Regions from separate parts of the Homo sapiens genome. Here regions 2, 3, 4, 5, 6 and 7 are each linked to region 1. The links are contacts of gene promoters, found by promoter capture Hi-C in blood cells and fetal thymus (Javierre and others, 2016). All regions are on one chromosome and are shown on one strand. Each heading gives the region's core, a stretch centred on a gene start or on the middle of the fragment in contact. The rest is flanking DNA. Distances are from core to core; before and after follow the strand shown.

The links. Contacts are between HindIII fragments. The CHiCAGO score rates a contact against its expected background, and 5 or more counts as called.
Region 2: a contact is called between a fragment that was not itself captured here and the fragment with the promoter of MYSM1 in region 1, in 17 of 17 cell types (total B cells, fetal thymus, naive B cells and 14 more). The highest score is 28.2, in total B cells.
Region 3: a contact is called between a fragment that was not itself captured here and the fragment with the promoter of MYSM1 in region 1, in 1 of 17 cell types (total B cells). The highest score is 5.7, in total B cells.
Region 4: a contact is called between a fragment that was not itself captured here and the fragment with the promoter of MYSM1 in region 1, in 1 of 17 cell types (naive B cells). The highest score is 6.6, in naive B cells.
Region 5: a contact is called between a fragment that was not itself captured here and the fragment with the promoter of MYSM1 in region 1, in 6 of 17 cell types (total B cells, naive B cells, total CD8 T cells and 3 more). The highest score is 8.7, in total B cells.
Region 6: a contact is called between a fragment that was not itself captured here and the fragment with the promoter of MYSM1 in region 1, in 1 of 17 cell types (monocytes). The highest score is 6.8, in monocytes.
Region 7: a contact is called between a fragment that was not itself captured here and the fragment with the promoter of MYSM1 in region 1, in 1 of 17 cell types (total B cells). The highest score is 5.2, in total B cells.

The regions. Positions count from the first base shown.
Region 1 is chr1:58,698,333-58,701,705 of GRCh38, reverse strand. MYSM1 (Myb like, SWIRM and MPN domains 1) reads left to right here and starts at 1,644. Exons shown (of 20, transcript NM_001085487.3): 1 at 1,644-1,721. The coding sequence starts at 1,654. RefSeq lists enhancers at 1,470-1,879, 2,090-2,149. The HindIII fragment of the contact is 3,791 bases long and covers 1-2,899 here.
Region 2 is chr1:59,689,872-59,693,244 of GRCh38, reverse strand. All of the region lies in intron 14 of FGGY (FGGY carbohydrate kinase domain containing), which reads right to left. Among named protein-coding and RNA genes, the nearest start is that of MIR4711, 42 kb to the left of the region's middle. The HindIII fragment of the contact is 1,922 bases long and covers 934-2,855 here.
Region 3 is chr1:59,668,592-59,671,964 of GRCh38, reverse strand. All of the region lies in intron 13 of FGGY (FGGY carbohydrate kinase domain containing), which reads right to left. Among named protein-coding and RNA genes, the nearest start is that of MIR4711, 63 kb to the left of the region's middle. RefSeq lists an enhancer at 2,113-2,667. The HindIII fragment of the contact is 1,951 bases long and covers 515-2,465 here.
Region 4 is chr1:59,641,505-59,644,877 of GRCh38, reverse strand. The region is part of intron 11 of FGGY (FGGY carbohydrate kinase domain containing); the gene reads right to left. Among named protein-coding and RNA genes, the nearest start is that of MIR4711, 90 kb to the left of the region's middle. The HindIII fragment of the contact is 6,550 bases long and covers 1-3,373 here.
Region 5 is chr1:59,570,055-59,573,427 of GRCh38, reverse strand. The region is part of intron 8 of FGGY (FGGY carbohydrate kinase domain containing); the gene reads right to left. Among named protein-coding and RNA genes, the nearest start is that of MIR4711, 160 kb to the left of the region's middle. The HindIII fragment of the contact is 640 bases long and covers 1,498-2,137 here.
Region 6 is chr1:59,548,740-59,552,112 of GRCh38, reverse strand. The region is part of intron 7 of FGGY (FGGY carbohydrate kinase domain containing); the gene reads right to left. Among named protein-coding and RNA genes, the nearest start is that of MIR4711, 180 kb to the left of the region's middle. The HindIII fragment of the contact is 1,119 bases long and covers 1,292-2,410 here.
Region 7 is chr1:59,493,383-59,496,755 of GRCh38, reverse strand. The region is part of intron 6 of FGGY (FGGY carbohydrate kinase domain containing); the gene reads right to left. The region is part of intron 2 of LOC124904192 (a long non-coding RNA gene); the gene reads left to right. Among named protein-coding and RNA genes, the nearest start is that of FGGY, 200 kb to the right of the region's middle. The HindIII fragment of the contact is 774 bases long and covers 1,436-2,209 here.

The DNA of each region.
Region 1 (3,373 bases), core at 395-2,894:
ATAGTGTGAGAAGTGAGGTCATTTAATTAATTAATTAATTCATTCATTCCTCTGTTCAATAGTTATTGAGCACCTGCTATGTGTCACTATGCTGAATATTGGTAGTGTAAGGACTAGCAGACGTGGTCTTTGTCCTTAAGGAATTCACAGTCCAGTGCAGAAGGCAGACGGATGAAAAATTACAAGGTGTGAGTGATAGCTGCTAAGGCAGGGGAATGCAGAAGGGTTTTTTTTTCTTTTCTTTTTTTTTGAGATGGAATCCCGCTCTGTCACCCAGGCTGGAATGCAATGGCGTGATCTCGGCTCACTGCAACCTCTGCCTCCTGGGTTCAAGCGATTCTTGTGCCTCAGCCTCCTGAGTAGCTGGGACTACAGTTGCCCACCACTACGCCCAGCTAATTTTTGTATTTTTAGTAGAAACGGGGTTTCACCATGTTGGTCAGGCTGGTCTCGAACTCCTGACCTTGTGATCCGCCCTCCCTGGCCTCCCAAAGTGCTGGGATTACAGGTGTGAGCCACCGCATCTGGCTGTCAGTATCTAATTTCTTGAGAAACTATAAACTAGACAGAAGTGGTGTTTATCCTCCAATTTCTAACAACATGATTGTTACATGGTGAGCACTCAGTAGAGGGTCAACAAAGCCTGGATTCTACTCCTGGCTCTGTCTTTGAAGCTACCTGTCCTTGGACAGTCATTTCAGCTCTCCAGGCCTCAGTTACCTCACCTGTAAAGTATAACTGGTGATATTAGCTCTGCCTACCTCACTGGGACACTGTAAGGATTAATGGTCATGAGCGTGATTTTTAAATTGCAAAGACGTCTACAAAATAAATTACACAATCATAAGTTATATTCTTAAATATTTGTTGAATTTTAAAATAAAAGTTGTTCAGCACTTAGGTGAAATGCTGAACGACTTCACATAAGTGCTGCACGACCCTTTTCTTTAAAAAACAAAGAGAGAGACTTAAATAACCAGCAGGTATGCAACCTTCAGTTCACAAAGCGGGTCTAGCTTGACTTTTTCATCAGTCCAGAAAGATACTGCTGTTATCCCCATTTTATCAGTGAGAGCAGTGAGGTCCCAAAGAATGTGTGCAAGAACAGAAGCTCTTAGAAGCTCAGGAGGGCCCGGGCGCGGTGGCTCACGCCTGTAATCTCAGAGCTTTGGGAGGCCGAGGCGGGCGGATCACCTGAGGTCGGGAGGTCGGGAGTTCGAGACCAGCTGGGCAACATGGTGAAACCCTGTATCTACTAAAAATACAAAAATTAGCCGGGCGTGGTGGCGCATGCCTGTAATCCCAGCTACTTGGGAGGCTGAGGCAGGAGAATCGCTTGAACCCGGGAGGTGGAGGTTGCAGTGAGCTGAGATACGCGCCATTGCACCCAAGCCTGGGCAACAAGAGTGAAACTCCCTCTCAAAAAAAAAAAGCTCAGGCGTGGGCCACTTCCCAAGGTCTCTACATGTCAACAAGTTAGAAAGGACCAAGCCCCAGGCCTCTGGGGGCGCCTTTGCTCTGGAAACCCCGCCTCCCGGCACGGGAGGGGCCGGACGACGCTTCAATCCCGCCCCGTGACGCGTTAGGCCCTGCCCCCGGGCCATCTTCGTCTCGCGGGATCTCTCGGGAGGACGGACGGGGTCAGGTCCCATCATGGCGGCTGAAGAGGCGGATGTGGATATCGAAGGGGACGTGGTAGCGGCGGCGGGGGCACAGCCAGGGTGAGGCTTAGAGACCGGGTCTCTCTGGGGCGGAGAGGGGAGTGGATTGAAGGAGCGGGCCCTGGGAAAGCTGCAGGTCCGGCAAGGGAAAAGGGAACAGAAGACTGTCCCCTGGGCCAGGGTCTCTTGTTGGCCTGGGAGGCACCTCGCCCGCCGGCTTGTCCCAAGCCCAGCGGGCAGGGCGGTTACCTGGAGCTCAGGTACTCCTGGGTCGCTTTCACCTTTTGCCGGATGCTGTGAGGGCACCGATTTCGCCTACCACATTGCGTTTGATTTACATTTAGATTCCTTCTTCCGTTCCCTCCTTTTCAGGATCTCATCGACAGTAACTAGAACAAGAGCGGCTACGGACGAGACCTGAGGTCAGGGACTCTTGTTCTATGGCTTGCTAGCCGTGTGACCTTGGGCGAGTCGTTTCATCCCTTCTTCCACATGGGGATAGTTGTAAAACTTCCCGAGAAGCAGGTTGACTTAAATGGGCCAGGTTTTAGAGTTGGACAGTTCTGGGTTTTCCTTCTGCATTTGCTCGCCCTACCAGTTAATAGCAATGTGACCTTGGGCAAGACACTTAACTTGTCTGAGCCTCAGACTGCTCATATTTAAACTGGGAGTCATGATATGTAATTGGGAGGATCAAATGAAATGATTATGAGATATGCTTTAGCATACGGTAGGTGCCCTCTGAATGTATTCTTTACCATCCTGTTACCCTCGGGGACAGTACTGTGAGAATCCAGTAAGGGATCACATTTTTTAAAATACCTGTTCCAGCAGAACAAACAGCCCAGTGTGATTTGACACAGAACCTCCTTTGACTCCTTGCTTTCTGAATCAAAAATGAGTCTCCTTTTAGTCATGAAGAGTCCTAGACTAGCCAGGAATCAGAAAGCCTGAGTTCTAAAGTCAGCCAGCTATGTTGTTTATAATTATGTACAATTTCCTTAGAACTGTATTAGCTTGAACCATATGAAATTGCCAATATTTAGACCATTTTTGTTCTATAAAGCGGCAACTTCATGTAGTTCAGCCTAATATTAGGGCCTCTGTGAACAGGGGAGAAGTACTAACCCAGCGCTTGAGGCACTAAGATAGTGTGTTTAGAAGTGTATCATGAACTCTAAAGCCCTATAAAGACGTGAGGGGTGATTAAACTCATATGGTCATTGTCCCTCAAAGCTTTGCAGATGAGTAGGGAGCCCTTAATAACAATACTTGTTGACATTCATTTAGTGTTTAAATCTTGACCAAGTGCTTTTGCATGTTTGATTTAATTTACTTTTCGCAACAAGTTAATGAAATAGGTTGGCAGGGATACTTATCTGCAGTCTAGAAAGAAATGAGCTGGCCTTGGAAACACTGAAGATTGGTCACCTGAGGGCATTGGCTGTATGCTTCTTCCATAGATTTATCTTTCTGATTGTGTTTCATTTTTCCCCTTTTCTCTTTCTTCCTATTTTAGTTGAGGCCTAGGTCTACTGGTGGCACTTGTGGTAACAAGCAGGATTACAAAGGTTATTGGTTCCTGATGATGGTTACAATTATTGTCTTATACAACCCCAAGGAGTATCATTAATATTATATTCTGGGCCAGGCATGGTGGCTCACGCCTGTAATCCCAGCACTTTGGGAGACCGAGGCGGGCAGATCACGAG
Region 2 (3,373 bases), core at 645-3,144, 990 kb before region 1:
GCCATATCTGTCTGATGCCAATGCAAACTCTTTCTAGCACGTCAAGCTGTCTCTTGGTGTTAATATTTTGTATTTGTGAATTACTTTATAGTTTACTAAGCACTTCCACATCTTTTATTCCATTTAAACCTTCTGACGATGCTTACACAAATATTATCTATCTTTTAGATTGTGAAATTGAATTTCAGAGAGTTCCTACTACTGGTAGTAATAATGATGATAAAATTAATGATAACTATCTTCTACTTTTGATGAACTGACTTGCTCAAGGCAACAGAGCTCAGCACGGGCAGATGTGAGGCTCAGACTCAAGTCTTCTGATGCCAAGTCCAGAGTTTCTTCCACCCTTGAAAGATGGGTCTCTCCAATATGACCATAGCATGATTAGTCTAGCCGCGGGAGAGGAGAGAGGTTTACAGCATCAGCTTGGCATTCAGTTGGCGTGGCTTTTAAAGTGGCTCAACATCTGCCATCAATTAGACTTCCTGTTGCTATGGTGATAGTTTATTATTGCTAGGCTGATAAGACGGCCCATGCAAGAAGACTATCTTCCTCTTTTTCCCTCCCACTCTACAGCAAAGTTTCTCCCCCAACTTTTTTTTTTTTTTTTGTCCTCTCATCTAACATAGTGGACCATTTGCCATATGATAATGATATAGTAGTTCCCAAATTGGGAACCCTGTTGGACTCCTGATGATAATCCTTGGAGTTAATGAGAATTTTTTTTCCCTTTTGCTTAAAACAGAGGCTTTGTCACACCAACTTTGGTTCAATTCATCTCTGACACTTATTAGCTCTCCAATCATGAACAAGTTACATAATTATCTTCCCTGGACCTTATTTTTGCATTTGGAATAAGTGATAAGAAAGCCTAACGGGCAGAGTAATTTTGAGAATTTTATATAATAAATACAAAGATGTCAGCACCAAGCTTAGAATGTAGTGGGTAAACAAGAAATGACAGTAGTTGTGATATTTAACATAATAGCAATGATTATTTACAAAGAGGTGAAATGAGACAGAGATTTAGAGTTGGAAGTCCGGGTCATTTACTTCCATTCATGTATCAACAATTCTAATTTTTCCTTCCATTGAACCTGTTCTTTTCCTTTATAGCACTTAACCCAAGATACATTTATTTGTACTTATCTTTTTAACTGTCTCTTCCAGTCAACTGCAGAGGTGATCAGTATTAGGACTATAGTTATTTTTCTTATCGTTGTACCTTGGGGGTATTTGTTGAATGAATGAACACATATTTACCAAGCAGCTACTCTATGTCAGGCTCCTTGTTAGCCATTGGAGATACAAAAATCACTTGAGCAAGATTCTTACTCTTGAGGCATTTACATAAGGGGTCTGTGAAAATGACAAAAATAAAGTAAGTGAGGCCTTCATCTTTGAATCCAAAAGGGGTTTTTTACAAATCCAATGACATAAATGGAATTAAATCTTCAGTAATCTTCTAGCACAAAGGACGGATGTGGGGGTGTATGGATATCTTAAGGCTGTAAGTACCAAGAAGAATTCAAACTGGTAGTGTTAAGTCCCCAAAGTAATCAGACTTTCCCTTTGAAACATACAGTTAAAAAAAAAAAAAAAAGAAAAGAAAAAAAAAGAACAAAAAAGAAAGAGAAGGCTTTTCTGAGGGCCAGCTCGTTGACTCCTCCCAGAACAGTCTGATCCCCTCTGCTAGTGAAGCAAGAGGTCAGATCCCCAGACGGAAAATCAATCTCCAAGAGTGGCTGGATAGAATTTCTAATTCACCAGTGCCATGACACGCAGTCTGTTTTCAGCCAAGGAGAATGAGGCCCAGAGGCTTTAGCTTCCCCAATCCACTGTACATTATCAGGCTGAGCTGACACCCCTCCGTGCCTGGAACACACAATGTTTGACAGTAACACAGACAGGCACAGTGACCCCATGGTGAGGGCCCTCCAACCTGCTTTTCTCAAGGTAGGCTAGGCTATTTTGAAGTTACTTTATTATTGAATTATTAAGTATCATTATTAAACATTATAATATTTTCAGTTATTTCCTTTGGAAAGATCTAGTCCAGTGCTTATGTTCAGCAAAGACCCTCCAAGGCTGCCAGGCAGTGGGGAAAGAGGGTGTGATGGATAAGCCAGAGACACAGTTCACCTTCTGTTTTCTGTATTGGCCTCCCAAAGGTTCCACTGCTTTACATTTTTGAAAACCAGAATCTGATTCTTTCAGTTTAAAGATGAGGAAACTGTGGCCCAAAGAGGTAGACCTCTTGTTCCAGATCATCCACTGAGTTACTAGTAACAGAACAGACTCTAATGACTGGGGAGTCAGTCTTTGAAAAATTAGAGCAAGTGAGAACCGTTAAGCAGCAGTTTACAGTCACAGCTAATGTGCACAAGTAAAGTTGTTTCTGGAGACATAGGTCAGATTTTACCTGCTAGCGACTTTAAATCTAAGTCCATCCCCAGCAGTGCCACTGCTTTAAGTGGCTGGGTTTCTGTGTAACTAGTCACAGGTGGCTGCCTTCTTAGCCAGCTTCAGGAAGATTACAAAGTCTCTGTAAAACTTCACCTCCAGTCTGGTACAGCATACATGTATCCAGCACTGACTACTGGCTAAGGATCAGTAAGACTTGGACCCTTATATGGAAGCTCACACTTGAGTGAGATCAGCAAACATGGCAACATCTAAGGGCGGTGCAAGAGATGGGCACATGGGGGTAGGGCCGTGTAGAGGTGGGCCTCACCAAGATGAGTTTCCCAAAGGAGCTTTATAGAGATGGGTTTCAGTATTTACAGTGAACAGACCACAGAGTCAGAAAATCTGGGTTTGTATCTGAGCTTCACCTTTTACCAGCTATGTAAGCTTGGGAAAGCGCGTGGCCTCTTGGTGATTCAGGTTCCTTGTGTGCAAAGTACAACTAATATCAGGATCTCATGGGACCGTTGTGAGGACTAAGTGAGCCAATAACCACAAAGTGCTTAAATGGCAGCTGGGGCATACTAAATGAATCCCCTCTATCACTTTTAGGGGCCCCTTGAAGACAGGAGTCCCAGCACCCCACCATACTATAATATGTTGGAACCTCACTAAAGCCTGTTGTTTCCTAGTCATTGAAACACTTGCTTCAATTTCCATTTTAGGATTTTCTATAAATTTCTCCTCCAGCCTCTGTAGTGGTTAGTCAGTTTACTGAGATGAAGACAACTGCTGTAGTCCAATTATCCAAACCAGTCTGGTTTGTCAAGATCCCTCTTCATCAGAGACACTGACAGGTGAAACTGAAAGGGCCAACTTGGTAGGAATTTCACTGCCGTCAACTCTATCCAACACACAGGCTCCTCTAGGCCCAGGTGTCAGGGAGGGGTTGGGGAGGGAGGAGGGA
Region 3 (3,373 bases), core at 241-2,740, 970 kb before region 1:
CTACTCACAGGCCCCTCCCCTTGCGAACCAGAGATGTGAGTGAACCTGGTGAATCCCCTATCAGCTCTCAAGTTGCTGCCCAAAGTGCTCTGAACCCAGACTGCCAGGGTTTGAATCCTGGCTTCCCCACTGACTTAGCTGTGTGATCCTAGGCAAGATACCTAATCTTTCCGTGCCTCAGCTTTCTCATCTGAAAAATGGGGTTAAAATTCCGCCTATCTCATAGAGTTGCTGTGAGAATTAAAACTGCTATTATAATAAGGCTCTTAAAATGGTGCTTGGCTTAGAGAAAGCACTAAATTAGCATTAGTTGTTATTCTTAAAGTTTACCTTACTTCTGAAGTCTCTCCTCACACCTGTTACCCAGGGTGAAATCAATCCACTGCTTCCATTTGCCTCTAAGACCAATCCCACCTCTTCCCTTCCTCCCTCCACCTACTCTGAGCCTGGGAGACTGGCCAGTGGGGATCACAGCTGTGGGCCCCTGCCCTCTGGTTTCATCCTTGGCTAAGCTTCTGCTGGGCTGCCCTCTTCACACATCCCACCAGGCTCAGATTGCCTGCTCCCTACCCTCACCCTTGTGAGCCCAGGGGTGGAAACACTGTTAGTATCCCAAGGTACTTCTTGGTTGTCTGGGCTTCCAGCACCCTGCCCACAGCTCTGTACACTGACTATTCAACTTCCCTCCGGTTAACCTAACTGGAGTGTGTATCTGTTCCCTGCCTGGACCTGACTGACACCGACACATTTTGTCCTCTGGGTCCCCACTCTACTCACTCTGGATATTGGTCATAAGACCAAGGGCACTTTTTCTGTGTTTTATAAAGAACCTCTTGGCTGGACATTACTGTTCTTCTTAGCATCCCTGTGCCAACCTCAGGGCTTGGCACACTGGTGTGCACAGAGAATGCTTTTGAGTGAATAAATGAAAGAACAAATAATTAAAATAATGAGTAAGACCAGAAGAGGGAAACCCCTACTGAAACTACCAGTACTAAAAAATAAAACTTAGAAGAAGGAACATTTAGTCCCAAGTCAGTGGGGGAAACTTAACAATTACTTAGTACATACCAAGTATTTCTTGAAACCACAGTTAACCAAATGACCAGGGTACAAGGAGGTTCTTCCTCCTCATGTAGACAGCATTTCCCAAGCTGGCAAGGCCCCGCTCTCCCTGCTTGTACAGAGCAGGCTGTTCTCAACATGGCAAAGATTCACTTTCAAAATAATAAGCTGCTTTTTTTTTTCCCTCAAATGCCCCTCTTTCTTTTTGGCATGGGGCTTCCTAGATGGAATAAGAGAATTGACATTTACTGATCACCTACTTGGACTAGGCACAGAGTTTGATGCTCACAAACTCGCAAGCATTTATTCCTCAGCAGTGATCTACATGAGGGAGATGATAATGTTTTTTGGTTTGTTTGTTTCAGAAGAGGGAACTGAGGCTCAGAGAGGTAAAGTAACTTGCCCAAAGTCACAGAGCTGATCTGCTTTTTCCACTGTTCCACACTATCTCCAAAAAAATCTCCCAAATTCGAATGTGTTTTTCACATGCATTTCTGAGAATCATGTTCCAGGTCTACAGTCCTCCCTAACTGTCTTTGTAGGAAAACTAGAGCAATACAATGTTTAAAGGCACCAATGACACTACCTCTATACTGGCTGCTTGTGTACGTGCCTTTTACAGGGACAAATGCAAATGTGTTCTTTTCTCTGAGTCCTGGGTGAAGGAGAGGAAGAGGGCAGCTTTGGCTGGAATGTGAACTATTTTATCTGATGCATTAATGAGTTTAGCAGAACCCAAAGCATTCAAAGGCAGATGCACTTTGCCATCACTTGTCAGTCACAGGCTTCCAAAGGCAGAGGAATTCCAGGCTAAATAAAAGGTCTCTTTGTCTGGAACTGTAACTGGTCCATAGTTAGAGACAAAAGGTCCAGTTTCAATCGGAATCCAAATAACGATTAACAGCCTTTTCATTCAACAGCCTAGAGGAGAACAGTTTCCAAAGCAGAACTTTCTGTGAAGCCGCTGCACTCCCCGCCGTGCTTCTGAGTCAGCCCAGGGATGTAGGGCCTGGAAGATGACCCATTTTCACAAAGTCCAGGGCTGCAGCGCGGAGTCAGTGCCGGGGTCACTCACAGCTAGCTGTTCTGCTCTGGGAGGCCCTGTTTCCCATTTTCTAGAGTACTGTGTTCTCCAAAGCTGACTTTCATCTTTCCTCTTGCATCCAGATAGGAAGTTTTTTGGCTATCAGAAGGCTGGAAATTGGGGCCGGGTGCGGTGGCTCATGCCTGTAATCCCAGAACTTTGGGAGGCCAAGGCGGGTGGATCACTTGAGGTCAGGAGTTCAAGACCAGCCTGGCCAACATGGTGAAACCCTGTCTCTACCAAAAAATACAAAAAAAAAAAAAAAAAAAAAAAAAGAAGTCTAGAAATTGGAATGTCACAGATCAAATTTTAAGCTTGAATGTTATCTGAACTAGCCAGCTGATTTTTAGATAAAATGTTATGGTTTTTCTCCTGAGGACAATTATAAGGCAATCTGGGCTCTTTTTATGTCTTTCCTCCTTCTGCTTTGAACGGCCCACTTCTATAGGGTTTTGGACATCTCAGGAAAGTGGCGTCATCATCAACTGGTTACAAACTTGGCAGAAAAGTCAAGAAACCTGGGTCAGCAGTACAGTACAAAGGGACGGTGGGCCCCGACACACCACAGTTACAATATTGGTCCTGCCCCATACTGGCTGTTTGACTTTAGATAGCCAATTTAATTCACCTACCCACCCATCAACTTGCTTGTCTGTAAGATGGGGGCACCGATTTCTACCTTTGGTGGTATGGGAGGATTAAGTGTCTACAGCGTGATTCACACTGACACATAGTAGGTGCTTGGTTAATGGTAATACTTTCTATACTTCACATCCCAATAGTTCTGCCCTTAGACTGTATGCTTTTTTTTTTTTTTTTTTTTTGAGATGGAGTTTTGCTCTTGTTGCCCAGGCTGGAGTGCAATGGCGCAATCTCGGCTCACTGCAACCTCCGCCTCCCAGGTTCAAGCAATTCTCCTGCCTCAGCCTCCCCAGTAGCTGGGATTACAGGCATGCGCCACCACGCCTGGCTAATTTTTTTTTTTTTGTATTTTTAGTAGAGATGGGGTTTCTCCATATTGGTCAGGCTGGTCTCGAACTCCTGACCTCAGGTGATCCGCCCACCTCGGCCTCCCAAAGTGTGGGGATCACAGGCGTGAGCCACCGTGCCCGGCTGACTGTATGCTTTTCTTACTGTCCTCAGACTTGTGTCTCAGTCTGCTTATCTCTAAGCTGGGAATAAGTGACTTACTTAGTTTCATCTCATGATGTGCAAAGATCAGTT
Region 4 (3,373 bases), core at 662-3,161, 940 kb before region 1:
AGCCTCCTGAGTAGCTGGGACCATAGGTGTGTGCCACCACGCACAGCCAATTTTTTGTATTTTTAGTAGAGACGGGGTTTCACCATGTTGGCCAGGATGGTCTCAATCTCTTGACCTCGTGATCCACCCGCCTCGGCCTCCCAAAGTGCTGGGATTACAGGCGTGAGCCACCGCACCCGGCCTATATTCATCTACCTTTATGTGTGACCATGTCATTTTCTTACTTTAAAAGTAAGCATTTTTCTTTGGGTGGGGGGGGGCGTGTCTGTCTTGTTTTTAATGAACCTAAAATCATCAGCGCTTACTGTTTTGAGACCGACTGTTATTACTTAAGATTCTGCTTCTTTTAAATAATCGTATGTGTAGCCCTCACCTTTCTGTGCTTCATTTATCAACTGGAAAGGAGAAATGTTTACATAGTGGGGTACCTAGTCCAGCCATGCTATTAGGCTGCTCATCCCCCACCTCCTCCACCTCTCTTTAGTCCAGTGCTTCAGGCTGATATTGTATCATCAAAAGAAAAATGAAACAGCTAGTCACATGATAGGAGTCAACTGTTACCAGAACAAAAAGAAAATGATACTATCAAGCATAAGGAAGAGATTCCTGGGTTATGTCCTGTTCCTACTTACCAAGGTAGGCACCTAGTGTGGAAGGCATTAGAACCAGGTCAAACCACGAGTGGCTATTTTTTTTTAAATCTGAGTCAGTTAGGGTGGGAAGGAAACTAGTACCTTACTGAGAAGAGACAGGGTCAGAGTTTAAATCCAAAGACCATGGTTAGGGTAAAAGTGGGAGGACAAGCCACAAGGTTGGTGGTCAGAAGAACAGAAGAGCCAAGGACTAGCTTAAGGAACATGGTTCACTATGAAACCATGTATAATGCATGTTTAAACTCCCTTTCTTAATAGTCCTCCATGCGTTTTGCAAAGTCCAGAGTTTGCATCCTAAAAGGCAAGCGCTGCCACTTCTTGGCTTTGTGACTTTGGGCAGGTCACTGTTCATTCCTCATTTGGCAAACAGTGATTGAAATAACTGTTTGACCATAAGGCAATTATTTGGTGCCAGCTTCTGACCTAAGAACTGTTGATATTTTAAAAAGTAAATAAGCCATTGCTCCTATCCTCAAAATGTTTTTCCTATAGAGTAAATTTAAAACATATGTTATGTCTTATGACAGCCTTGATCTTATTTTCTTCAGTGAAAATTATACTCCCTATTGCTTTCAATGTAGGTTTTAATTCTTTGATTGCATTTTTAGTTGTCTTGTGGTCTTTGCCATTTCCCCCTTTTTCTCATTCCATTGTCCTTTCATCTTAACTTGTTCTTTCCTAATAAGTTTCTGGCCTATTTCATAGAGATATGCCTTGAAACAAAATTTCTGGCTGGGAACAGTGTTTCATGCCTATAATCTCAACACTTTGGGAGACTGAAGTGGGAAGACGGCTTGAGGCCAGCAGTTTGAGACCAGCCTTGGCAACAGAGTGAGACCCCATCTCTACAAAAAAATATTTTAAAAATTAGCTGGGCATGCTGACATGTGCCTGTGTAGTCTTAGCTACTTGGGAGGCTGAGATGGAAGGACTGCTTGAGCTCAGAAGTTCAAGGTTACAGTGGGTTCTGATTAGGCCACTGCACCACTGCATTCCAGTCTGAGTGACAAAGAGCAAGATCCTGTCTCTTAAAAAAAAATTAAAAATATTCCATTGAATATACCACAAAGTTCTCTAACATTTTCTTTTGGTTTCAGTAGTAAATAATTTTCAAGAGGGCTTTCCTTTAAGTGTTCACAATGGTATTTTTTTCTTTGTATGTAATGGTTTTTCTTTTTTTTTTTTTTTTTGAGATGGAGTCTCACTCTGTCACCCAGGCTAGAGTGCAGTGGCGTGATCTTGGCTCACTGCAAGCTCCACCCCCCAGGTTCTCGCCATTCTCCTGCCTCAGCCTCCCGAGTAGCTGGGACTACAGCCACCCGCCACCATGCCCGGCTAATTTTTTTGTACTTTTTTAAGTAGAGACAGGGTTTCACCATGTTAGCCAGGATGGTCTCGATCTCCTGACCTCGTGATCCATCCGCTTCGGCCTCCCAAAGTGTTGGGATTACAGGTGTGAGCCACCGCGTCCAGCCGTATGTAATGGTTTTTCTAAGGGGCCATTATTTTTCAACATTTACGCTAACTAGACAGGTACACATGTTCAGTATTTCCCAGCATACAGTACACATGATTTGCTCTTTTTTTTTTTTTTTTTTTGAGACGGAGTCTCGCTCTTGTCACCCAGGCTGGAGTGCAGTGGCACAATCTCAGCTCACTGCAACCTCCGCCTACCAGGTTCAAGCAATTCTCCTGCCTCAGCCTCCTGAGTAGCTGGGATTACAGGCGTCCACCACCACGCCCAGCTAATTTTTGTATTTTTAGTAGAAACGGGGTTTCACCATGTTGGTCAGGCTGGTCTCGAACCCCTGACCTCATGATCCAACTGGCTCGGCCTCCCAAAGTGCTGGGATTACAGGCGTGAGCCACCGCACACAGCCGTGATTTGCTCTTATCCCCACTCACTGTATACTTAAATTTGTCTCTTCAGATCTACAGCTAAATGCCAGTTGGCAGAGTACAGCAGTTTTTATTTTCTGTAGCTTTGTTGGACTGAGGTAGATCAGCACTGCCTGGCTTTCCGAGCCTAGAACTAGTAGTGCAAACTACACCCTTCCTCCCAAGTTTACAGAACTACTAAGGCCTTTCCTACATCTGCCCCATTAACAGATGCTTAGAATGCAAGCCATCACCCTTCCTCCTAATTCACACTTCCTGCTTGGGTGGATTCTTGAGCTGGCAGTTTTCAAATGGAATGAACTGAAAGAGTGGCTGGGAACAGGGTTGTGGGGGGATCTAGGAATTTAAACTCACTGGCTGCTTTCCAAAAAGAAAACAAAAAACCCAACCATTAGCAGTAAAGTAGAGGAATAGCTATGCTGTTTTCAGGTTTAAAAGAACCTTGTGCTTTTATGCAAGGGAGCAGAAGGTGGCGAGGTCCAAACTGTTTCCACAGTGGATCACACATGACTTTGTTCTTATGTCATATATGATGTTATCAAACAAGTTGCATTCATCATATAATTGGGAATACCAATTCTAGTTTTCCTAGTTGAACACCATCCTAATTCCTAAGGCCTGCATGAATTCATGACTTTTTTGCATTTTTACAAATATTTTCAAGAGAAGCAGAAAAAGGCTGCATCAGGGTTTGCTAGCCCAATGCCACATAAAAACAATTTCAAAGTCAGACATGTATTGAGCATCTCCTTCAGCTTGCACTGATTATTACAGAGATCACACTGTAAAATGATTATATACACACACATACACACATGTAC
Region 5 (3,373 bases), core at 568-3,067, 870 kb before region 1:
GTAGTTTTTCTGAACCATTTGAAAGTGGCAGACATAATGTCCTTTTACTCCAAAATATTCAATAATTCAGTGTGTATTTTATAATAACAAGGATATTCTCTTATATATCCATAATACAATTATCAGGAAGTATACATAGATACAATTCTATTATCTAATCTACTGATCTTATTAGAATGTCATCTATTATCCACTAAATGTCCTTTACAATAAAACTTTTAAAAAAGTTTCTCCAATTCAATTCAGCATCACACATGTCCTTCAGATATCATGTCTCTTTCGTCTCCTTTGATCTTCCTGTAGTTTTTCTTTTATGACCTTGGCATTTTTGAAGACTAGAGGCAAGTTATTTTATAGAATCTCCCTCAATTTGGGTTTCTGATATTTCCTCATGATCAGATTCAAGTCAGGCATTTTTGGCAGAATTACTACCAAAGCAATATCGTGTCCACATGGCTACTTCTTGAGAAGACCTTTCATAAGAGACAAGGGTAAAATATTTAAAACAACCTAAAAACAAAGCTGACAGTGCAAACCAAAAATGTTTCTCTCTAGTGAATCCAGTCTGTCCAAGGAATGCCTGAACGACTACTGCTCTCTCTCCAGATATCTCTACTCACTGGGGAGCAGCTCATCTTAGGAGTTTGGGTGAGATACCTAATAAGCCTCTATTGTGTTTGCCCTGCAGCCTCAACAGTTTTCACACCAAGGAAGTGCTGCTGATTTTATCTTCTAAACATCTTTCCAATATATCGACATCTCATCTCCCCCACCATAATCTGAGACAAGTTAGTATGATATCATCTCTCACACAGACTCCCAGTCTTCTTCTGGTTTCCTAGTATCCTAGTACCACTCAGGTCTCTTGCCAATTTGTTCTCCAAACTGGAATTATTTCCATCCTTTGTAATTCAATTATCTTATCCACTGTGCTTAAAACCTTTCAGTTTCTCTTACATAAAAGACTAAAATCCCTCAGAAGGCTTACAAGCCCAGCATATGCTACCCCTTTTTGCTTCTCCAGCCTTTACTTGTAGCATTCTTCTCTCTTGCCCCACACCAAAGCTGCCAATTTCCTTCTGCTTATTCTTCTGTACTCTCTTTCTGAACAAATTTTTTCTCTTGACCACTGCCATGCACAACCCTACTCCCTCCCCGTCAGGCTCTCTGCTTAGTTACCTAATCAAAATCTCCCAGCTCAAACATCACTGCCTTGCCTTCTAGACCACCCAAATTATATGGCACTTGGCTCTATGTTCTGATAGCTTCTCTGCTTTCTAGCACTTACATATCATACATACAGAGGAGTGTATAAAACTTATGTGAACATTAAAAAAACTGTTAAGTACTCATGTATCCTTCAGAAGCAAATGCTAGTTCCCTCAAGCTCTTCCTGAAAGCATCTTTTAACCTCAACAACCTGCAATTCCAAGCCATCTAATTCACCAGTGTCCTGATATTTGTGGTAATTATTCCCTTGCTTGTCTTTTCTAAGCTTAGTGCTTTTGTAGGCATTTTTTAAAAGACATTGTCTTTTTTGCTTCTTTTTGAATTTTCTATGAATGAAATAATTCTGTATGTATCTCTTTCATGTCTTGTTTCTTCCACTTAAAATTGTTTGATCCATCTATGTTGTCATATGTAGCTGTAGTTCCTACATTTTAAGTATGTCTACCACTGTATGAATATAATACAACTTAGTTATTCATGCTATTATTGATGAAATTTGAGTTGATTCAAATTTGTAGCTATTATAAAAAATAATGCTATGAATACTCTTGTACTTACTTGTCTCTGGGCACTTACTGGTACACAAGTACAATTGTTTCTCCAGCTTCCTACCTAGGAATGGAATTGGTAGAGTACAGGGCATGTGCACAGTCAAATTGATCAGACAATGCCTCACTGTTTTCCAAAGTGACTGCCCAATTTATACTTCCCCCAGCAGGGTATGAAAGCAAAGCACTTATCAAGGTCTGTAATTATACATTTTTGTAATTGTTTGCTGAGTATTCATCTCCTCCACTACACTGTACAGTCTAGGTCTACTGCTCACCATTTTCTCTCCAGTACCTGGCACAGAGTGAATGCTCTAAACAACTGGCTACATAAAATAAAGCAGTCTGGTAAGAAAGCTTAAGTCTTTTGGACATGAACACAGATCTGCCTAACTTTAACATCCATGTGTTTTCTACCAGACTACATTTTCCTTATTTCAAAATGGTGATGATCGTATCCTATTAATTATTTCCCAGTGTAATAGTAGTAATCAAATGAGATTACAGATGTCAATGCAATGAACACAGAGTACATATTAAGCATCACCAATGTTCCACTACTCTGCACCTGGACCCAGGGGTCCACAGATGGGGTATATGAAAGACGGCTGTCCATGACAAGTGCTTTTTGAATGTATATGGATTAAAATTACTTTGTGGAGGAAGATGTGGCTTCAAATATCATGGCAGGGAAAACCAAGGAGACCAATTAACGCTTTCAAATGCAAAGTGCACCTGTGTCCCAAATTATTCACTAGCACAAACAAAAGAAGCTCACTCCAAGACCTGATCAGAACAAACATTTTTGAATGCTTTTACCCAGGTGGCATCATCATCTTTCATCTGTGCCCAGGCTCAAGGAAGGGCTGGGTAGAGAGCTGGATTAAACACTGCACTTCAGCTTGGCACTGTGGGTTCGGAAGTAAACTCTGACTTCCTATTTACATTGAAAGATCTCAGGCCTTTGTGGTTTCCTGTTGCGTCCTGGTGTGTCTGCGTTCTGGTTTCTGGGTTTGTCTGCACAGAACTACAAACAGGATCTCTCACTGTTTCACTCCATCCTGCTTTCCATGAGAAAATAAGAATTCCACAATCTCTAATTGTTGGCAGATTCTACCAGGTACTTTGTCCAAGTCATGACTTCTCAGTATGTCTTACCCAGACCTACCAAGAGATATTTTATTTGAAAGGATGGAGATAAAGGGATTCCTCAGTGTGCTCCAAATCTGGCAGGAACTGACTGATTCTCAAACTTGTTTTCCTTCATTTTACATTAATTTTACATTTATTTACTTCACTCTTATATTCATCAAGTGTAAATTTAGAGTACTGTCTATGTACAAGGTGCTCTGCTAGGCACTACGGAAACAATGAAGTAAAGATATAATTGCTACTCTGAAAGAGCTTAAAGCAGTTTTTTTGAAAGTTTTCCATTAGAATCACCTGGGCACATGTTAAAATTACAGATTCTCATATATCCCTTCCAGCAAGACTTAGAGAATCAGACCCTGTGGGAGAGGGGCCTGAGGAATTGCATTTTTAAAACAGTTACCCAGGTATATTTTGTGCACATTAATTGACAGTCACTGGCTTGC
Region 6 (3,373 bases), core at 602-3,101, 850 kb before region 1:
CCACCTCCCTCCTCCCTCCTTAGTCCCTCCAGCCTGGGGATGGTAGCTGCTTCCATTTCACTGATCTCTGATTTGCTTCACAGGGAATGTAGCCCTTCTCAGCTCCTCCATCATCAGGATCGCCATTTTTGGGTATTAAGTTACTGGTTTTTTAAACAATTAGAGTGGTTTGTGTTTTGCTGAGTGAATCCTGAGTGACACGATTCTCCATTCAGGGCACAAAGGCTTTTGTACAGGAATAACCCAAGATATGAGCTCATTTTAACTGAGCTCTTTTTACATGCTCTTTCTATACATGTCTCATTTTATTCTTACAACAAACTAATGTCATTGGTATTAGTATTATCCTCATTTTATGGATAAGAAAATCGAAGCTTAGAAATGAGTAGTAACTTCACCAGGGTCATGCAGCTCACAAGGAACTGGGCTGTGATTCACATTCAGGTAATCTGATTCCAAAGTGCTGGTTCTTCCCCACCAAGACTCACAGGTTTTTCTCTAAGATAAAAATCCAATAGCCAGGCAACCAATGTTCACTTATCTGTACATCTCAAAATCTTGGGATCTTAAATATATTGATTCTGAGATCCTTGACAGAAAAGGAGTTGGCCACGCTGCTCCACAGTATCATAAATAGGTTCAAGGAATTCCTGAGAATCACCCACATTTACTGGTTGCATAAACATAAAGTACAGGCAAAGTTAATGTTACAGGGTCAGTCAATACGAAAAGGGAATTAAAATGAAGGAAAAAGAAATGTGTAGGAAATATTTATTTGTTTCTTCTTGGGTTGGCAGATTCACTGCTGCTATATCTAGACTTAGAACCTGAGAACTAGTGTGCTATTATGAGAAAAGGATGGAATTTGGAGACAGAAGGATCTGCTATAAAATGAGGAAAATCACAACATCACATGGTTGTTGTGATATTGCAGAAATGCTTAAAAAGAGATGTTTAATGGTAGCTCTGTCACCATCATCACTACCATCACTCTCTCCACCACCACCATCATCACCATCATCATCATCTGAACCCCCTCTCAAGAGACAACTGGATTCTTCCTTTCTAGTAAACATATCAACATCAAAGATAGGCTGGGTACTGTGCTGAGCTCCTTGAATGTTCTCTCATTTAATCTTTGCAACATCCATAAAAGGTAAACATTCTTTCTTCCTCTTAATAGATGCAGAAGTAGAAGAACAGAGCAGAGTGTTCAGGTAACTTGCCCAAGGCCACATGGATTTAAGAAGCAGTGCCAGGATTTGACCTTGTTCTGTCTGACTCCAAAGCTTATGTTCTTTCTATACTCCTCACTTTATGATGTTATAATTGTCTTACATAATGAAAACATACTTGGAAGTGCTAGTTCACCATGAAACTCAGTGAGAGCCATGGGCTAAGAGTTAGAAAAACAAGAGTTTCAGCCCCAATTCTGCCACAAATGGCCTAAAAGTTTGAACTGGTTCTCTCATCCCCACAATGAGAGAAATGAATTACAAATGGAGGTCCTTCCTCAGCCATTCTCAGTATATACACAGTGCTTCTCCTAAAATACAAGCTGAGGTATCTCCTTACCTAAAATTATATATATTGGGCAGGACTGGCCTCATTTCCCCTCAAGAGGTTCTCTACACTCTGCCTAATGTCCACCCCAATTCAGCAGCCATGCATAGCTGATGTTCACTGCAAGACCACATGAGTCGGAGAGCTGACATCTTATTTTTCCTTTGGCCACACAGTGCTTTGATGGGCTATCCCCGAGAAAAGAGGTTCAGAGATAAGCAGGGAAAAGCAAGAAAAGGTGGGAGGAGCTTTCTTCTTTCCGGAGAAACATATTTTGCCATCCACAGAGAACTCACAGGCTGCATGTGTACATCAGGAAACAATTTGACACAAGTGCAGCCCTCGGTACCGCTGGGGCCCTTCATATGACCATACCAGTGTCAGTTTATTCTGCAATCCTCAAAATGTTTAAGGAGAAAAATTAGCAGATGAAGAAACAGGCATAAAAAAACAGTGACATCATCAACTGTGTTTTCCCTGAAACTTGCACAATGCCCAACTGATGGCAGTTGCTCAATAAATGTTTGTTGAACTAAAAAACAAATAGCAGAAAAACAGGCTAACTCAATGAATTAAATGTCTCCCAACCCTCCATGTAACACACATAGTTCATATCAAGCAATGTTTAAAAAGAATGTTAAAAAAGGAACATTTAAAACTTCATGAACAGCTCTCTTATTTAATATGCTGTCTCCCTTCATCTCTCCCATTCATCCAACCAACAATACTTCCACCCAAGCATTGAGTCCCTACTATATTTATGTAAAATAAAAAAGAGACTTTGCAAATGTTATGATTAAGAGTACATTTTCCTATAATTTATCACGCTGTGGCAGTTTTGAAAGCTTACAAGGTTATATAGAAGAAAAACATCCTGAGTTCTCGCATTTGTGTTATAATTATCTCCCACTTTATAGCCATATAAAGTACTTTATAGCTTGCAAAGTATCCTCAAACACTGTAACCTTCAATTAGTCCTTAGAAAATCCTGTGATATGTGTATTTTATTTCCAGTTCACAGTTGAAGAAATTGAATTTCAGAAAGGTGAAGTAATTTAGTCGAGTTTATTTAGTAACTTAGAGGTAGAAGTTGGACTCAACTAGGATTTTCAGTCTTTGAGTCTGATGTGTTGGCATCTTGAAAAAGATTCTCTTTTAATAACCTCAGGCACCTTCTCTGAAGTATCAAAAAGGATAAGAAGGGTTTTGAACATTATTTAAGACTACATCTGTTTGAGACTCTTGATTCAGTCATTTGGATGAATGAACTGACTGATGAATCCCATCCAGTGAGTTTCTTGCCAAAGCTGGCTGGGAGGTTTCTGGAGTTCCTGGAGAGGAAGGGCTCCAGAGAAGACTCTCTAGTGACCACCAGCTTTATACATGCAAATTGACAACTGTATGCTTCTGGAAGGATAAGAATCATATCAAAGACGTGTTCTCTGCAGAAGACTTAACACCAGACTACATACACGCAGACACTGAAGTCCATTATTTTGACTAACATTCATTTATGTTAAACAGAACACAATATATTGAGTTAGTATTATGGCACAGTGCTTAAAAATAAGGACTCATTCATCATGTGATTTCTTATCTTCTTTATGTTTCTTATCTTCCTTATGCCTCAATTTCCACATCTCTACAATATGAATAGTATCCTCCTCACAGATTATAAAAATTATATATGTTAATATAGGTGTAAAGTACCCATAACAGTGCTAATAAGAGCATTCTGTGATGATGGAAATGTTCTATATTTGCACTGTCTGATACAATAGATACCAGACACATGTGGCAATTGAGCCCT
Region 7 (3,373 bases), core at 573-3,072, 790 kb before region 1:
GACATTTTTTTAATCAATCTAGTAACCACATTTTATTTATTTATTTGTTCATCTATTTTATTTTTTTTTAACTTTTATTTTAGGCTCAGGGGTACATGTGCAGGCTTGTTACACAGGTAAACTGCGTGTCACATTAGTTTGGTGTGCAGATTATTTCATCACCCAGCTGATAAGCATAGCACTCTACAGGTAGTTTTTCGATCCTCACCCTCTTCCCAACCTCTACCCTTAAGTAGGCCCCAGTGTCTACTGTTCTCTCCTTTGTGTTCATATGTACTTGGTGTTTAGCTCCCACTTACCAGTGAGAATATGCAGTATGTGGTTTTCTGTTCCTGCATTAGTTTGCTTAGGATAATGGCCTCCAGCTCCATTCATGTTGCTGCAGAGGACAAAATCTTATTCTTTTTAATGGCTGTGTAGTATTCCAGGGTATACATGTGCCATATTTTCTTTATCCGGTCCACTGTTGATGGGCATCTAGGTTGATTTCATGTCTTTGCTATTTTGAATAGTGACACAAAAAATAAAAATATCTAGGAATACAGCTAACCAGAGAGGTGAAAGATCTCTACAACGAGAATTACAAAACACTGCTGAAAGAAATCAGAGATGACACAAATAAATGGAAAAACATTCCATGCTCATGGAAAGGAGGAATCAATATTATTAAAATGGCCATACTGCCCAAAGTAATTTACAGATTCAATGCTATTCCCATCAAACTGCCAATGACATTTTTCACAGAACTAGAAAAAACTATTCTAAAATTCATATGGAACCAAAAAAGAGCCCGAATAGACAAAGCAATCCTAAGCACAAAGAACAAAGCTGGAGGCACCACATTACCTGACTTCAAACTATATTCCAAGGCTACAGTAACTAAAACAGTATGACACTAGTACAATAACAGACACATAGATCCATGGAAAAGAATAGAGAGCACAGAAATAAAGCCACACACCTACAACAATCTGATCTTCAACAAAGTTGACACAAACAAGCAATAAGGAAAGACCCCTCCCCCCAATTCAATAAATGGTGCTGGGATAACTAGCCATATGCAGAAGATTGAAACTGGACCCCTTCCTTATACCACATATAAAAATCAATTCAAGATAGATTAAAGACTTAGATGTAAAACCTAAAACTATAAAAACCCTAGAAGAAAACCTAGGAAATACAATTAGGTATTATATACCTAATTGTATACCATATATAAAAATCATATATAAAATCAATACTCCATATATAAAAATCAATTCAAGATAGATTAAAGACTTAGATATAAAACCTAAAACTATAAAAACCCTAGAAGAAAACCTAGGAAATACCATTCTAGACATAGGCTCTGGCTAAGATTTCACGATGAAGATGTCAAAAGCAATTGCAACAAAAGCAAAAATTGACAAATGGGGCCTAATTAAACTAAAAAGCTTCCACACAGCAAAAGAAACTATCAATAGAGTAAACAGTCAACCTACAGAATAGGAGAAAATATTTGCAAACTATGCATCCAACAAAGGATTAATACCCAGAATATTTAAGGAATTTAAGCAAATTAACAAGCGAAAAATAACCCCATTAAAAAATGGGGAAATAACATGAACACTTTTCAAAAGAAGACATACAACCAACAAACATATGAAAAAGTGTTAATCATTAGAGAAATCAAAATCAAAATCACAATGAGATACCATCTCACATCAGTCAGAATGGCTATCATTAAAAAGTCAGAAGATAACAGATACTGGTGAGGTTGTGGAGAAAAGGGAATGCCTATACACTAGTGGTGTGAATGTAAATTCATTCAGCCATTGTGGAAAGCACTTTGGTGATTTCTCAAAGAACTTAGAGAACTTCTTTCTCAAAGAACCATTTTACCCAGCAATCCCATTAGTAGGTATATACCCAAAGGAATATAAATTGTTCTACTATAAAGAATTTTTGTTTCCTAAAAATCACCTCTAGTACCCCAAAGTGTACACTGTGGAATATGCTGCTATATTTTTCTGGCACTCTCTGCTCTTTCTTCCTCACCAGACCATAATTTCCTTGTGGGCAACAGTATTACATATTGCATTTCTGGTATCTACAACCTACCATCTGCTATACAGTAGATACAAAGTGAAAGCCAACAGAATGTTAAAAAGTAAAATCATCATTTCCCTTTGAAACCCCTCTAGTGGCTTTCTGTATACCTAGGAAAGCTTTGGCTGCTTTACTCCAAGGCTCACAAGGTTCTGCATTTTTTACACCTCTTACCCCATCACTTGTCCTTCCCCTTCCTCAGTACATTCTGCTAAACTGGTCTTTTCTATCTTCTCAAACATGCCAACCTTATTCCCAGCCCTGGGCCTCTGCTCCTGCTGTTGCTTCTGCCAGGAACACTCCTGCCCACATGTTCACACTGATTAGGCCATCTCCACATTGATGTCACAACTCTGAAGTCTCCTCCTTAGAGAAGCCTTCCCTACCCACATTTCAGCCAGCACTTTATTTCCATCATAACAATTAGCCACATTTGCATTTGTCTTGTTTATGTATATACTTGCTTACTGTCTGGTTTCTCCATCTCACATGGTAATGTGATGTAACCTTACTGTCTTGCTTACTGCTACCTTCAAGAGTGCTGGAATGAAAAAGGTGTTCTAATGCTGGCTAATGAAAGAATGAATCGAACTGATCTATGTATCACAGCAGATACAAACCCTGCCTTCCTCCCAGAACTGAATCAAACCCTAGGCTGCCAATGACTAGATCTGTGACCAGGGCAAGTGATTTAGCCCTAAAAAGGCTCATCTTAGCTGTAAACTAAGAAATAATAGATTTAATTTTAAGCAACACATTGAATACATTAATTAGTCTCTATCTCCCCCAAGAAGAGAATAAAATAAATGTAAAGTGGAATTATTTTTCATTGTTTTTAAAAATTTTTTAATTGTGGTAAAATATATGTAAGATAACATTTACTATCTTAACTGTTTTTATGCATACAATTCAGTTGTATTAAGTACATTCACACATCATGAAATCATTACAACCACCCATTTCTAGAACATTTTTCATCTTGCAAAACTGAAACTCTATATCCATTAAACACTAACTTCTCCTTTCCCCCTTCCCCCAAATCCCTGGTAACTATCATTCTACTTTCTATCTCTATGAATCTGACTACTCTATGTATCCCATATAAGAAGGATCATACAGTATTGGTCCTTTTGTGACTGCCTTATTTCATTTAACATAGTATCTTCAAGATTCATCCATGCTATAGTATGTGTCATAATTCCCTCCCTTTTTAATGCTGAATCATATTCTGTTATGTGTATATATCACATTTTATCAGTTCTGCCACTAATGAACACTTGGTTTG